3 separate regions of the Homo sapiens genome follow, and regions 1 and 3 are each linked to region 2. Evidence: promoter capture Hi-C in 16 types of primary human blood cells and fetal thymus (Javierre and others, 2016). All regions are on one chromosome and are shown on one strand. Each heading gives the region's core, a stretch centred on a gene start or on the middle of the fragment in contact. The rest is flanking DNA. Distances are from core to core; before and after follow the strand shown. Region 1 has its middle 12 kb from the start of OR11G2. Region 2 holds the start of OR4L1 (olfactory receptor family 4 subfamily L member 1). Region 3 overlaps LOC124903278 (a long non-coding RNA gene).

Region 1 (2,700 bases), core at 76-2,575, 140 kb after region 2:
GGTATTTTTAGTAGAGATGGAGATTCACCATGTTGGCCAGGCTGGTCTCGAACTTCTGACCTCAGGTGATCCACCCACCTCGGCCTCCCAAAGTGCTGGGATTACAGGCGTGAGCCACTGCACCCGGCCAACAAAGAACAATTTTCTAGGAGAACTTTCTGATCATTAGATTTGGAAAATCATTTTTTCCCGCAATTCTAGGGTTCCTTAGGAGCCTGTTTATTGATAGAAATGTTGAAGCGAGGTCTTCAGAGCCCCTTAACATAATTTCACTCAGATAGTTTCGTACTTTAGAAAAAACCTGAGATACAGCTTCCTCATCTTAGGGCTTGTGTAAATATACTGTTATAAAACTTTAACGAGTTTTATCACAGTTATATTTAGACATCATCTCCCTTATTTTTCAATTACTGATTTTTATTGCCCTTGTTCGGCACCTGCAATGTACCAAACATTGAGCCAGGAAATAAATTTGAGACAAAGGTATATAAGACACATTTTCTTCCCTCATAGGATTCACAGTCTTGTGATCGAGAAAATTGGAAGGTTTTCTTTTTGTTAAGTAGCAAAAGTTCAGTGAGAGGGGAAGGCCTAATTACAGTGGAAGCTCACGAGAAGCTGCATGTATGTAAGTATGGAACTTGTGTGAAAGAGGTTGTAAGCACAGCACAGGCATTGTCTTTTTGCAAGTGCACCTCAGGTTACAGAATAGAAGTGCTTCTAGAAATTATTTTACACCATCGTATAATCAACCACTGCTAGTGGTTACTACTAAGGTCCCAGAGACAAAGCAAGTATGACCATAAAATATAATATAGGCTGGGCGTGGTGGCTATGCCTATAATCCGAGCACTTTGGGAGGCCGAGGTGGGTGGATCACCTGAGATCAGGAGTTCGAGACTAGCCTGGCCAACATGGTGAAACCCTGTCTCTACTAAAAATACAAAAAAAAAAATAGCCGGGTGTGGTGACGTATGCCTGTAATCCCAGCTACTTGGGAAGCTGAGGCGGGAGAATCCCTTGAACCCGGGAGGTGGAGCTTCCAGTGATCTGAGATCATGCCATTGTGCTCCAGCCTGGGCAACAAGAGTGAAACTTCATCTCAAAAAATAACAATAATAATAGTAATAATATAAATTGAATACAAAAGAGAGATATTATTTAAAATGTTAAGTAAATATAGATTTTAGTAATAGAATGTTGAATTGCTTCGATCTACCATCTTGCTGTGATCAAATAAAAATACTAAATTTAAAAAAAAACTTAAAAACATTGACAATCTGAAGAGAGAATAGAAAATGGCTAAGTCATTTTTTTATGAAAGCCTGAGAGGTGAGCACTAAGGCCATTCATGCTCAGAGAGCACTTGACTGTAGTTCATATCCTTATGCTTCAGGACAATTCCTGGCTGAGGAGATAGAAATAGGAACCTGGTGCTGGTGGGGAGGGGGTGGTCACAAAAAGCTGGTGCTCTAATGGTCTTCATCCTCAGGTAAGGATGAACCAGAGCTAGACCTGATGCCACTCAGAAGGGAATCACTCATCCCTGGAAGTTTGTGGCCATGGTTTAGCTCTCGTTTGAATTTTCTTCAATTTCCCCATTACACTAGCAATCTCTTCATCTTTTTTTTTTTTTTTTTTTTTTAGTTCAAAGGTGTTAGGCTTTCTTTTTGTTGTTGTTGTTTGCAGTTTGGGGGTTTTTTTAGATAGTATCTCACCCTGTCACCCATGCTGGAATACAGTGGTATGATCACAGCTAATTGCAGCCTCAACCTCTTGGGCTCAAGCAATCCTCCCACCTTAGCCTCTCAAGTAGCTGGGACCACAGGCACATGCCACCATGCCTGGCTAATTTTTTTTTTTTTTTTTTTAGAAATTGGGTCTCTCTATGTTGCCCAGGCTGTAGGCTTTCTATTAAAGACTTTGCCATCCTCTTTTTCCTTTGTTTCATTTTATGAATGGACACAACTCAAAATTTTTAAGTAAAATATTTTAATCCTCCAGCCTACATGAAATGTTAAGTCACAAAACAGCCTTAATCATTTTGAAAGATTAAAATCGTACCTATCTTTCTCAAATCACAATGGAATAAAACCGTAAATCAACAGCAAAAAGAAATATCCACAAATATGTGGATATTCAACAACACAATCTAAACCAAGCGATGAGTCAGAGAAGTCACAAGGGAAATTATAAAGTATCTTGAGACAAATAAAAATGAAAACACAACATACCAAAATTTACAAGATGAAAAGAAAGCAGCACTAAGAGAGAAATTTATAGCTATAAAGGCTTACATTATAAAAGAAGAAAAATCTCAACTCAAAAACCTAACTTTATGCCATAAGAAACTAGAAAAAGAAGAACAAACTAAATTCAAAGCTAGCAAATGGTAGGAAATAATGAAGATTACAGCAGGGATAAATGAAGTGAAAATATAAAACTGTAGAGAAAATGAACAAAACCAAAAGTTTGTTATTCAAAAAGATAAACTAAGTGGACAAGACTTTAGCTAGATTAAGAAAAAAAGAAGACTCAACAAAAATTAGAAATTAAATGAGGACATTACAACTGATTTTCTAGAAATTAGTTTTTATAACTTTTCCTATGAACAAAAAGAAGTTATCTCGAATTCCACACAGACGTCTCATCATTGCCTTTCAAAACATTCTTCTTGCCTTTGCTCTGGGGTCCAATTTG
Region 2 (2,700 bases), core at 108-2,607:
CCCACCCTTAACAACCTGAACCAGAGTGGTACATTCGTTACCGCTGGTGAGCCTACATTGCACATTATTATCTCCCCAAATTTGTAGTTTACATTAGGATTTACTCTTGATGTTATACATGCTATGGGTTTTGACAAATGTGTTATGTATTTCTAAGTATAGTAGATAAGAATTGTTTCAATACCCTGCAAATTCTCCGTACTTCTCTTATTTCTTCATTTCTCCTTCTTCATTCAAACCCCTGGAAACCACTGAACGTTTAACTGTCTCCAGTTTTTTCTTAGTTTATTTCAAATAAAAGACATGCAACTTTTCCTTTTACTTGAACACTTAGAGGCTATTGCAAAGCTATTAATTGGCCTAAATCCAATATTGTTGTATCTCAAAGAATAGAGAGGCCTGAAGAGAAGGAGAGAGATGAGGGAAGAGTAGGTTGGTGGAGCCGTTAGAAACAACATTTATCAATTGTCTGCCATTCTACATGGGCACGGCTTGTGGTGCCCAAAAATAATGAAAATAGTAACATAAAAGATTACTGGTCACAGATCAAATAACGTGTAATAATAATAATAAAGTTTGAAATAAATATTTTGGGAATTACCAAAATGTGACACAGAGACATAAAGTGAGCACATGCTGTTGGAAAAATGGTGCCAATAGACTTGCTGGATCCAGGGTTGTCACAAACCCTCAGTTTATAAAACATTAAATAACTGCAAAGGACAATAAAGTGAAACACAATAAAAGAGGTATACATGTATATTAAAAAGAAAAATTATTTTAAATAAATTTATATACTTTCATCCATGTATAATTTGCTCCTGATTTGTGTGTGTGTGTGTGTGTGCTTTTTGTTTGTTTGTTTGCTTATTTAGTTTAGAACCATAGAAAAACCTTCATAAATTACTTCAGAGATGTAGAACAATGTAATTCTTCATTTTCTAAATCTTGTATTCCTTATATATTGGGATAACATAATCTCAAGAAGTGCAGGTACAGAATACTATAATAATAAAAGGCAAAATAAAAAGTAATTAATTAGTATCTAATCTTTATATGTGAACAAATGAGTAAGAAAGTCAAGATCCATTGATAAGAGTATGATTTTATGGAATAAACAATAGAAAATGGAACTTCTACTTCTTCAAATGATTTGTAATTACTGCAGAGTAATTGTTTCAAAGTGATATAATATTTAAGCTAATCTCTGTGTTGATATATTTAAAATTATATGATCTCATATCATCAACTATTATCACCAACTAATAGAAATAAGAAAATATTGGTGTTAACTGTGACTTATTTTTTAATTCTCTTTGTATATAAAGAACTTCTGGAACCTTTCTGAGTTGAGTAAATGGATCTTAAAAATGGATCTCTAGTGACCGAGTTTATTTTACTAGGATTTTTTGGACGATGGGAACTTCAAATTTTCTTCTTTGTGACATTTTCCCTGATCTACGGTGCTACTGTGATGGGAAACATTCTCATTATGGTCACAGTGACATGTAGGTCAACCCTTCATTCTCCCTTGTACTTTCTCCTTGGAAATCTCTCTTTTTTGGACATGTGTCTCTCCACTGCCACAACACCCAAGATGATCATAGATTTGCTCACTGACCACAAGACCATCTCTGTGTGGGGCTGCGTGACCCAGATGTTCTTCATGCACTTCTTTGGGGGTGCTGAGATGACTCTTCTGATAATCATGGCCTTTGACAGGTATGTAGCCATATGTAAACCCCTGCACTATAGGACAATCATGAGCCACAAGCTGCTAAAGGGGTTTGCGATACTTTCATGGATAATTGGTTTTTTACACTCCATAAGCCAGATAGTTTTAACAATGAACTTGCCTTTCTGTGGCCACAATGTCATAAACAACATATTTTGTGATCTTCCCCTTGTGATCAAGCTTGCTTGCATTGAAACATACACCCTGGAATTATTTGTCATTGCTGACAGCGGGCTGCTCTCTTTCACCTGTTTCATCCTCTTGCTTGTTTCTTACATTGTCATCCTGGTCAGTGTACCAAAAAAATCATCACATGGGCTCTCCAAGGCGCTGTCCACATTGTCTGCCCACATCATTGTGGTCACTCTGTTCTTTGGACCTTGTATTTTTATCTATGTTTGGCCATTCAGTAGTTTGGCAAGCAATAAAACTCTTGCCGTATTTTATACAGTTATCACACCCTTACTGAATCCGAGTATTTATACCCTGAGAAATAAGAAAATGCAAGAGGCCATAAGAAAATTACGGTTCCAATATGTTAGTTCTGCACAGAATTTCTAGATGTTAGCACTATATAATTAACTTTTAAATGCTACGATAAGATAGTTTGAATAGATTATGTATAATGCATCATTTCACTTTTCTTATGTTATAATAATAACGCATAAAGACAATACTAAATTACTTTAAATTTTACATTTAAGACTTTTATAAACATAAGGATAGAGATCTGCAGCAAAATAGACATAAAAATAGACATAAATAAACATAAAAAGATTATTGAGGATTTTTATCATATACATTCAATATATTCATTAATAAAGAAACAACTGTAAATGAATACATGAAGATATGAATATTATTAGAGGTTATTTTAATATATATTGATAATGTTATTCATAAATTTATACTATTATTAAATGAGGTATCATGAACAAGTCATGAATTAAATAATGTTAACAGAA
Region 3 (2,700 bases), core at 196-2,695, 140 kb before region 2:
ACCCATATTACGCTGTTTTAATTTACTACAGTTTTAAAATAAATCTTGATGTCTGATAGATTAAGTTCTCTCATCTCTTATTTTTCAGTGTCTTTGTTAGTTTATCCCCTTTATGTTCTATAAACATTTTACAACCAGCTCGTCAGATTTCTTAAAATATTATTTCAGGATTTTGTTGTAATTGCATTGGATTCATGTGTTAATTGACATACAAAGATATTTATTATATTCATTGTATATAACATATTTATTAACTTATAGAGAATGACATCTTTTACAAATAAATGTTGAAAAAGAAAAAATATGTCAACAAAAAATTACAATTATTTATGTAAAAAATGTAACTTGCAAAACAACAAATACTCTAAGCTTATGTACAAATTTAAAGATGTGCATTTAGAGAAAATTATAAAATTTAACAAAAGGTAGTAATGAAGAGTGTATTAGTAAATCAAACTTAAATAAGTGAAGATAGACACTATATTAATAAATAGAAAAACAGTATGGTAAAAGATGTCAGTTCTCTCTTAGGGTATTTTTTTAGAGTTACTTTTTATTCTCCTTGTAGTAGCTAATTCCTATTACCAGTTGCTAATTCTTTATATTAAGTATTCTCTGTTCAAATTACTCATGTGGGTTCTGTCTCCTGACTAGACTCTGACAGATACAGATACTTTTAAGTATTTTGAAGGTATCGAAAAATCAGAAGCATCTCATCAAATATGTTAATGAGAGAAATCAGGAGCCAGTTGAATAAAAAAAAGTCAGTAGCTTCATCTATTTATGCACTAAAGTGAAATTCATCTATGACATGCTTGAAAATATAAAAAATGATAGGGCTGGGTGCGGTGGCTCACGCCTGTAATCCTAGCACTTTGGGAGGCCGAAGTGGGCGGATAACCTGAGGTCAGGAATTCAAGACCAGCCTGACCAACATAGAGAAAACCCCTCTCTACTAAAAATACAAAATTAGCCGGGCATGGTGGCACATGCCTATAGTCCCAGCTACTCGGGAGGCTGAGGCAGGAGAATCGCTTGAACTTGGGAGGCGGAGGTTGTGGTGAGCCGAGATCGCGCCATTGCACTCCAGCCTGGGCAACAAGAGCAAAACTCCGTATCAAAAAAAAAAAAAAAAAAAAAAAAAAAGATAGCATTTATAAAGTGAATGCTATCATTTGGTAAACTCAAATTTATTTCTTGACTTTTTAATAATCGCCATCCTGACTGGTGTGAGATGGTATTTCATTGTGGTTTTGATTTGCATTAGATGCTGGTGAAACTGTGGAGAAATAGGAATGCTTTTACACTGTTGGTGAGAGTGTAAATTAGTTCAATCATCGTGGAAGACGGTGTAGCTATTCCTCAAAGATCTAGAGCCAGAAATACCATTTGACCCAGCAAACCCATTACTGGTTATATACCCAAAGGAATATAAATCATTCTATTCTAAAGACACATGCACATGTATGTTTATTGCAGCACTATTTCCACAAATTTTTCAAATTACTCTAGTTCCAATAAAAACAAGGGACATTCCTAATGCTAAGAGCAATGAATTTCTAATTTAATTAATTCTTATTTAAGGGAAACTATTAAAGGCACATAGCATCGTATTTCGGTTAGGATTGTGATATTATGTACTGTAGAATCCCACCTTAAATTTTGTTTAAAATATAAAAAATAGAAAAATAAATAAAAAAATAAAGCAACTATTAATATAACTTGGTAATCAACTTTTTAATACACACATTTCAAAGTAATAGGATAGTATTAAAAATTCTTTTTTTTTCCTCTGGTTTACAGATCCTATAGACTTTCCCTGCACTGCTGACAAATTGACAGAGAAATATCATTAACTGAATAAAATGGCAGAAGAAGTGAACATTTTAGTAAATGTGGAAATAACTCTAGTCAATTGAAAAAGTGTAAAGGAAAGTGTCTTGAGTTGGCTGTCAAAAACTGGGATTTGAACATTGATTATATTACTATTTTTGACATTGAACAGATTACTTAGCTTTTGATCAAGTCACCAATCTCTTCAGTCTTTTAATTTTCAGCTATTTCTCTCAGAATAAAGAAAAGAAAAAAAAAACTACCTTTTTGGTTCACACAGGCTCTGTATTATATGGCTTCTTCTTCACGATAACCCATACAATGAGTTAATTAACATATTTCTCCCTGGCTAAGCCAAACTCTACCTTATTAGGGGATTTGTTTATGGTAGATGAATATATTCCTAAATTGCTTTTGATAATCTGAATATTTTAAAAAGTAAGAAGGGATGCTACCAAACCCAGGGCAGACTTTTATTTGTTTCCTGAGATCTCACAATTTAAGCTACTTCTGCTATGCTTATGAACTAAGTTGATGAGCAGTCCTTCTGACAAGGAACAGTCCTTCAGACAATGCCCAGCACAGAAGCTGTTCGAAAGAGCTGATGTGATGCCTCAGACTTTACAGAGAGACGGTGTCATGGCTCGTGGGGAGAGTACCCCAAAAGGCCAACGGGATAAAGGATGAAGAAGCTTTAGTTCCATTGACTAAATAGAGACAACTGGCAATAGTATGAGTCAAGTTAGTCACAGGACAAGGAGGAAAGTATCAGAGGTACACTTTCCAGGAATGCAGAGTAACAGAGTCCTCCAGGAAAAAACAGAGTAGGTGATTGCAAAGGCACTTCAGGGTGGTCTTTAGAGGAAC

What was found. Contacts are between HindIII fragments. The CHiCAGO score rates a contact against its expected background, and 5 or more counts as called.
Region 1: a fragment that was not itself captured here is called in contact with the fragment with the promoter of OR4L1 in region 2 in 2 of 17 cell types (M2 macrophages and M1 macrophages); the score reaches 7.8 in M2 macrophages.
Region 3: a contact is called between a fragment that was not itself captured here and the fragment with the promoter of OR4L1 in region 2, in 15 of 17 cell types (total CD4 T cells, naive CD4 T cells, non-activated CD4 T cells and 12 more). The highest score is 11.9, in total CD4 T cells.

Annotation. Positions count from the first base shown.
Region 1 is chr14:20,201,375-20,204,074 of GRCh38, forward strand. No RefSeq gene overlaps it. Among named protein-coding and RNA genes, the nearest start is that of OR11G2, 12 kb to the left of the region's middle. The HindIII fragment of the contact is 5,403 bases long and covers 1-2,700 here.
Region 2 is chr14:20,058,688-20,061,387 of GRCh38, forward strand. OR4L1 (olfactory receptor family 4 subfamily L member 1) reads left to right here and starts at 1,358. Exons shown (of 1, transcript NM_001004717.1): 1 at 1,358-2,296. The coding sequence starts at 1,358. The coding sequence ends at 2,296. The HindIII fragment of the contact is 2,043 bases long and covers 1-1,913 here.
Region 3 is chr14:19,923,282-19,925,981 of GRCh38, forward strand. The region is part of intron 2 of LOC124903278 (a long non-coding RNA gene); the gene reads right to left. It also overlaps a transcript of OR4K1 not described here. Among named protein-coding and RNA genes, the nearest start is that of OR4K5, 4.0 kb to the left of the region's middle. The HindIII fragment of the contact is 2,156 bases long and covers 368-2,523 here.